2 separate regions of the Homo sapiens genome follow, and region 2 is linked to region 1. Evidence: promoter capture Hi-C in human tissues and cell types (Jung and others, 2019). All regions are on one chromosome and are shown on one strand. The core of a region is centred on a gene start or on the middle of the fragment in contact, and the rest is flanking DNA. Distances in the headings are between cores, read along the strand shown. Region 1 holds the start of C19orf18 (chromosome 19 open reading frame 18). Region 2 overlaps ZNF8-DT (ZNF8 divergent transcript).

Region 1 (2,705 bases), core at 36-2,535:
ACTGGCCTGGCCGCCAACATGGTGAAAGCCCATCTCTACTAAAAATACAAAAATTAGCTGGGTGTGGTGGCAGATGCCTGTAATCCCAGCGGTTCCAGAGGCTGAGGCAGGAGAATCGTTTGAACCCAGGAGGTGGAGGTTGCAGTGAGCCAAGATTGTGCCACTGCACTCCAGTGTGGGTGACAGGGCAAGACTCCATCTCAAAAAAAAAAAAAAAAAAAAAAAAGGGCCTCCTGTTGGTCAGGTCACATCACGAGTCAAAAGAAAGTCCCAGACTTCTGCTTCTTCCTGGAAGTATTCCCTTCCTCTCACCTATCATGCACAGCCTGGACAGTATTGATTTCAGTGGTCCCTAACATCCAGCACTCCCAGGTCCCCTCTGTCTCCCTCATACATGACATAGTTCATTGCCTTTTTTGAGCCCGTCTTCTATTCCTCCCATCTCTGAAGCCTAGGGCCCACTTTCAGTCATCAGGAGTCCCCCTTTACCTTCCTGCTGTGGGTCTCCCCTGTGCACATTGCCTCCCTTCTAAGGGTGACTGCTTTCCTTCCACTTTCTTTTCTTTCTTTCTTTGTGCAGTGGTACGATTTTGGCTCACTGCTACCTCTGCCTTCTGGGCTCAAGTGATCTTCCTGCCTCAGCCTCCCGAGTATCTGGGACTACAGGTACACGCCACCATGCCTGGCTAGTTTTTGTTTTTGTGTTTGTTGTTTTATTTTTTTGAGACAGAGTCTTGCTCTGTCGCCCAGGCTGGAGTGCAGTGGCATGATCTCAGCTCACTGCAACCTCCACCTCCTGGGTTCAAGTGATTCTCATGCCTCAGCCTCCCAAGTAGCTTGAACTACAGGTGTGCACCACCACGCCCAGCAAATTTTTGTATTTTTAGTAGAGATGGGCTTTCACTGTGTTGGCCAGGCTGGTCTTGAACTCCTGGCCTCAAGCGATCTGCCCACCTTGACCTCCTAAAGTGTTGGGATCATAGGCGTGAGCCACCGTGCCCATTCCTTTTTTCCTGAACATTTTCCAAGTGAGGTTGTTGGAAATCACGGATGGGGAACTATGCATGCGGAGGGCTGACTGTAATTGATTTCTTTCTGCCTCCTCACTAATCTGCACACTGCAGGCAGGGACCTGGTCTCATCATGCCTGCACCTCCAAGCACTGCCCTCTTACACTGTAGTCTCCCCATTGGTCAGCATGGTTCCATGAAGGAACTCCATTATCACAGCAAGGACTGACCTCACACTGGTGGCTCCAAGTCACTGCCCAAACATTCTGAAGGGAGTAGAACTTCTTGATTCCTCAGATAAATAGAGGACAGATGCTGGACTGTAGCTAAGTATTTCCTTTCATCTACGGGATAAAATACTGATAATTTGAGAGTGATGGACAAGGTTCAGAGTGGTTTCCTCATTTTGTTTTTGTTTTTAATGGAATGCCAACTTCATTTATGCTTGCCGTATGCAGATGGACTCCATCCCACTGGAAACATAACAGGCTTACCAGGTAGCTTCAACCACTGGTTTTATGTGACTCAGGGAGAATTGAAAAGCTGTTTCAGGGGAGATAAAAAGAAGGTAATTACATTTCACCGCAAAAAGTTTTCTTTTCAAGGCAGTAAACGGTCACAACCACCCAGAAACATCACCAAAGAGCCCAAAGTGTTCTTTCATAAAACCCAGTTGCCTGGGATTCAAGGGGCTGCCTCGAGATCCACGGGTGAGTCATTGAATTCCTCATTCAGTGGAGTGAGAATCGTAGCCTGGAGTCCTCTTATCTGCCATGTGAATGTGTACTGTGTGCTTGCTGGTAGAAAGGTCCATAAAATAGAGTATAATTAGATAAACATTTGCTTGGAAATTAGATCTTATGCTCTTCACTCTCTGTTAACTGCTTTCTCTTTAGGGATTGCCACTTTCTTCTCTTTTTCATTTCACTTTAATAAGCGCACACAAAAACCTTGATCCCATCCAGATTACACAGGTATGCCTGTCTGACTTGAATTTGGTGCACATTTGGCAGTAGAGCATGCAAGTCTAGACACAGAAGGTTTGTGAGTGTACAGAATTCTTTTTTTTCTTTTTTTTTTTTTTGAGACAGAGTCTTGCTCTGTCGCCCAGGCTGGAGTGCAGTGGCGCGATCTCGGCTCACTGCAAGCTCCACCTCCTGGGTTCACACCATTCTCCTGCCTCAGCCTCCCAAGTAGCTGGGACTACAGGCACCCGCCACCACGCCAAGCTAATTTTTTGTATTTTTAGTAGAGACAGGGTTTCACTGTGTTAGCCAGGATGGTCTTGATCTCCTGACCTCATGATCCGCCCGCCTCGGCCTCTCAAAGTGCTGGGATTACAGGCATGAGCCACCATGCCCAGCCGAGAATTCTTTATAAGCATTTTCTATGGTTCCCTTCTAATTTGAGTACTAGAGGATGTTTGTTTATCTTATAACAGCAAAACCAACCCCGACAATCTTTGAAGCTCAGCAACCCTTTGTGGAGATATATGATGCTTGTAAATAATCTCCATTCCATGCAAGGGAAATGCTGTCTGTGTGATACATTTGCATGTAATTTGTGTCCGAGGAAAGGACACTATTGTTGGTTCCCTGGCCTCTCTGCCTGGCTCTCTGATCCTTTTTTTTTTTTTTTTTTTTTTTTTTTTTTTTTTTTTTTTGAGACGGAGTCTCACTCTGTCACCCAGCTGGA
Region 2 (2,881 bases), core at 248-2,747, 300 kb before region 1:
TGCCCAGGCTAGAGTGTAGTGGGGCAATCTCGGCTCATTGCAATCTCCAACTCCCGGGTTCCAGCGATTCTCCTGCTCAGCCTCCCAAGTAGCTGGCATTACAGGCACCCACCACCACGCCCAGATAATTTTTGCATTTTTAGTGGGGACAGGGTTTCACCATGTCGGCCAGGCTGGTCTTCAACTCCTGACCTCAAGTGATCCGCCCGCCTCGGCCTCCCAAAGTGCTGGGATTACAGGCATGAGCCACTGCGCCCAGCCTGCTCTTGCTTGATTTTTTAAATTGTCAGATCACTAATACAGAGACACCGAATCAAAAGGAGAGTAGGACAGTTGTTCATAATCCCACAAATCAAATGCTTACCTCCTCATGTACCATTGCTTCTCTCACCTATAGGCACACATTTGAAATAATTTGTTAGTTATCCAAATAAGAAGTGAACCACCAGGGAATTAAATGCTATGGGCTTAAAAGGGAAAGTACTCATCTCCTGCCCCAGTCACTCATCCTCTCAGCCTCCCGACATCACTTTTTTTTTGAGATAGGGTCTCACACTGTCACATAGGCTGGAGTGCAGTGATATAATAACAGCTAACTGCAGCCTCAACCTCCTGGGGTCAAAGAATCCTCCCAACTCAGCTTCCTGAGTAGCTGGGACTTCAGGTATGTGCTACTATGCCCGGCTAATTTTTGTATTTTTTGTAGAGACCAGGTCTCGCCATGTTGCCCAGGCTGGTCTCCAACTCTTAGGCTCAAGTGATCCACCTGCCTCAGCCTCCCAAAGCACTGGGATTACAGGTGTGCACCACCATATCCACTGCACCCACCTCCAGCCACTTTTAACCATATCTGTTCCAATTCTTCTTGAGGACACCTCCGTAATTCTAATCTTTGATCATCTTTAGTCTTTTTTTTTTTTTTTTTCCTGGAGACGGAGTCTGACTCTGTTGCCCAGGCTGGAGCACAGTGATGCAATCTCAGCTCACTGCAACCTCCACTTCCTGGGTTCAAACGATTCTCCTGCCTCAGCCTCCTGAGTAGCTGGGATTACAGGTGCCCACCACCACGCTGGGCTAATCTTTGTATTTTTAGTAGAGACAGAGTTTCACCATGTTGGCCAGGCTGGTCTCAAACTCCTGACCTCAGGTGATCCACCCACCTCAGCCTCCCAAAGTGCTGGGATTACAGGCATAAGCCACCGCATCCAGCCAATCATCTTTAGTTTTCACTAACTTCCTGCTCTGACAGGTGAGGATCTGACTCACATCCGCTGCCAATTCCTCTCATATTACATTTCAAGCTTTAATTTTCATCTTCTAAATAAACTTACATATCATGTTTAAAAGCCTACTTCCTAAAAGGATGGTAAGGGAAACCTCTACTCTCCACTACTACTTTCCCCATCTACTCTCCCACATCTGCAGGTGGGGCTGACATTGTCAGTGACAGGAATAATGACAACAGTGCCCTACCCTACGGCCACTATGAAGTTGTCAGGTCACAGCCATGTGTTACTTCCTAAAAATTAAAAGCCAATACAGGCCGGGTGCAATGGCTCATCCCTGTAATCCCAGCACTTTGGGATGCCAAGGTGGGCGGATCACAAGGTGAGGAGTTGGAGACCATCCTGACCAACATGGTGAAACCCTGTGTCTACTAAAAATACAAAAATTAGCTGGGCGTGGTGGCACGTGCCTGTAATCCCAGCTACTCAGGAGGCTGAGGCAGGAGAATTGCTTGAACCCGGGAGGCGGAGGTTACAGTGAGCCAAGATCGCGCCACTGCACTCCAGACTGGGCAACAGAGACTCCTTCTCAAAAAAAAAGAAAAAAAAAGCCAATACCTAGGGTTCACGTCACAGCTATGCAAATGCCATTCCCTGAAGGGTCAATCAACAATCTGACTGCATCTCCTCCTCCTTTATTCAAATTTCATGAGCTTTTTGCCCCCTCCAGCAAGAATTACTCACATCAGTGTCAAGTGAACACTACTTTCTAAAGTTACCTTCACATAGGAACTATAACCATCTAGCAGAATTTGTATAGTTTGAGCACAATTTACCTTGAAGCCTTCAATTAAAATTACCTTTTTTTTTAAGTTATGGGTGAATAAACATTCCTTTTCTTGCCCTATTCCTTTTCTAGATTAAAGCTATTCCTTTCTTAGATTCAAAACTATTTTCTCTAGAGAAGGTTCTGCCATGCCATTTGCTCTGTTTTGAGACAGAGTCTCATTCTGTCGCCCAGGCTGGAGTCCAGTGGCATGATCTAGACTCATTGCAACCTCTGCCTCCCAGGTTCAAGTGATACTCCTGCGTCAGCCTCCTGAGTAGCTGGGATTGCAGGCATTTATCACCACACTTGGCTAATTTTTGTATCTTTAGTAGAGACAGGGTTTCACCATCTTGGCCAGGCTGGTCTCAAACTCCTAACCTAGAGTGATCCACCTGCCTCGGTCTCCCAAAGTGCTGGGATTACAGGCGTGAGCCACCATGCCAGCCCTGCCATCTTTTTTTTTTTTTTTTTTTTTGAGACAGAGTCTCGCTTTGTCGCCCACGCTGGAGTGCAGTGGCACAATCTTAGCTCACTGCAACCTCCACCTCCTGGGTTCAAGCAATTCTCCTACCTCAGCCTCCCAAGTAGCTGGGATTACAGGTGTGAGCCACCATGCCCGACCCTGACATTTTTTTTGTTTGTTTTTTTTTGAGACAGAGTCTCGCTTTGTCGCCCAAGGCTGGAGTGCAGTGGCACAATCTTAGCTCACTGCAACCTCTACCTCTCGAGTTCAAGCGATTCTCCTGCCTCAGCCTCCTGAATAGCTGGGATTATAGGCGGCTGCCACCATGCCTGGCTAATTTTTGAATTTTTATTAGAGATGAGG

The links. The method cuts DNA at HindIII sites, captures the fragments that hold promoters and counts their contacts. A contact is called where the count stands out against the background at its distance.
Region 2: a contact is called between a fragment that was not itself captured here and the fragment with the promoter of C19orf18 in region 1, in 1 of the 25 tissues and cell types used here (pancreas).

What each region holds. Positions count from the first base shown.
Region 1 is chr19:57,973,114-57,975,818 of GRCh38, reverse strand. C19orf18 (chromosome 19 open reading frame 18) reads left to right here and starts at 1,285. Exons shown (of 6, transcript NM_152474.5): 1 at 1,285-1,507; 2 at 1,616-1,720. The coding sequence starts at 1,387. The HindIII fragment of the contact is 10,862 bases long and covers 1-2,705 here.
Region 2 is chr19:58,269,260-58,272,140 of GRCh38, reverse strand. All of the region lies in intron 1 of ZNF8-DT (ZNF8 divergent transcript), which reads left to right. It also overlaps a transcript of ZNF544 not described here. Among named protein-coding and RNA genes, the nearest start is that of ZNF8-DT, 8.0 kb to the left of the region's middle. The HindIII fragment of the contact is 7,344 bases long and covers 1-2,881 here.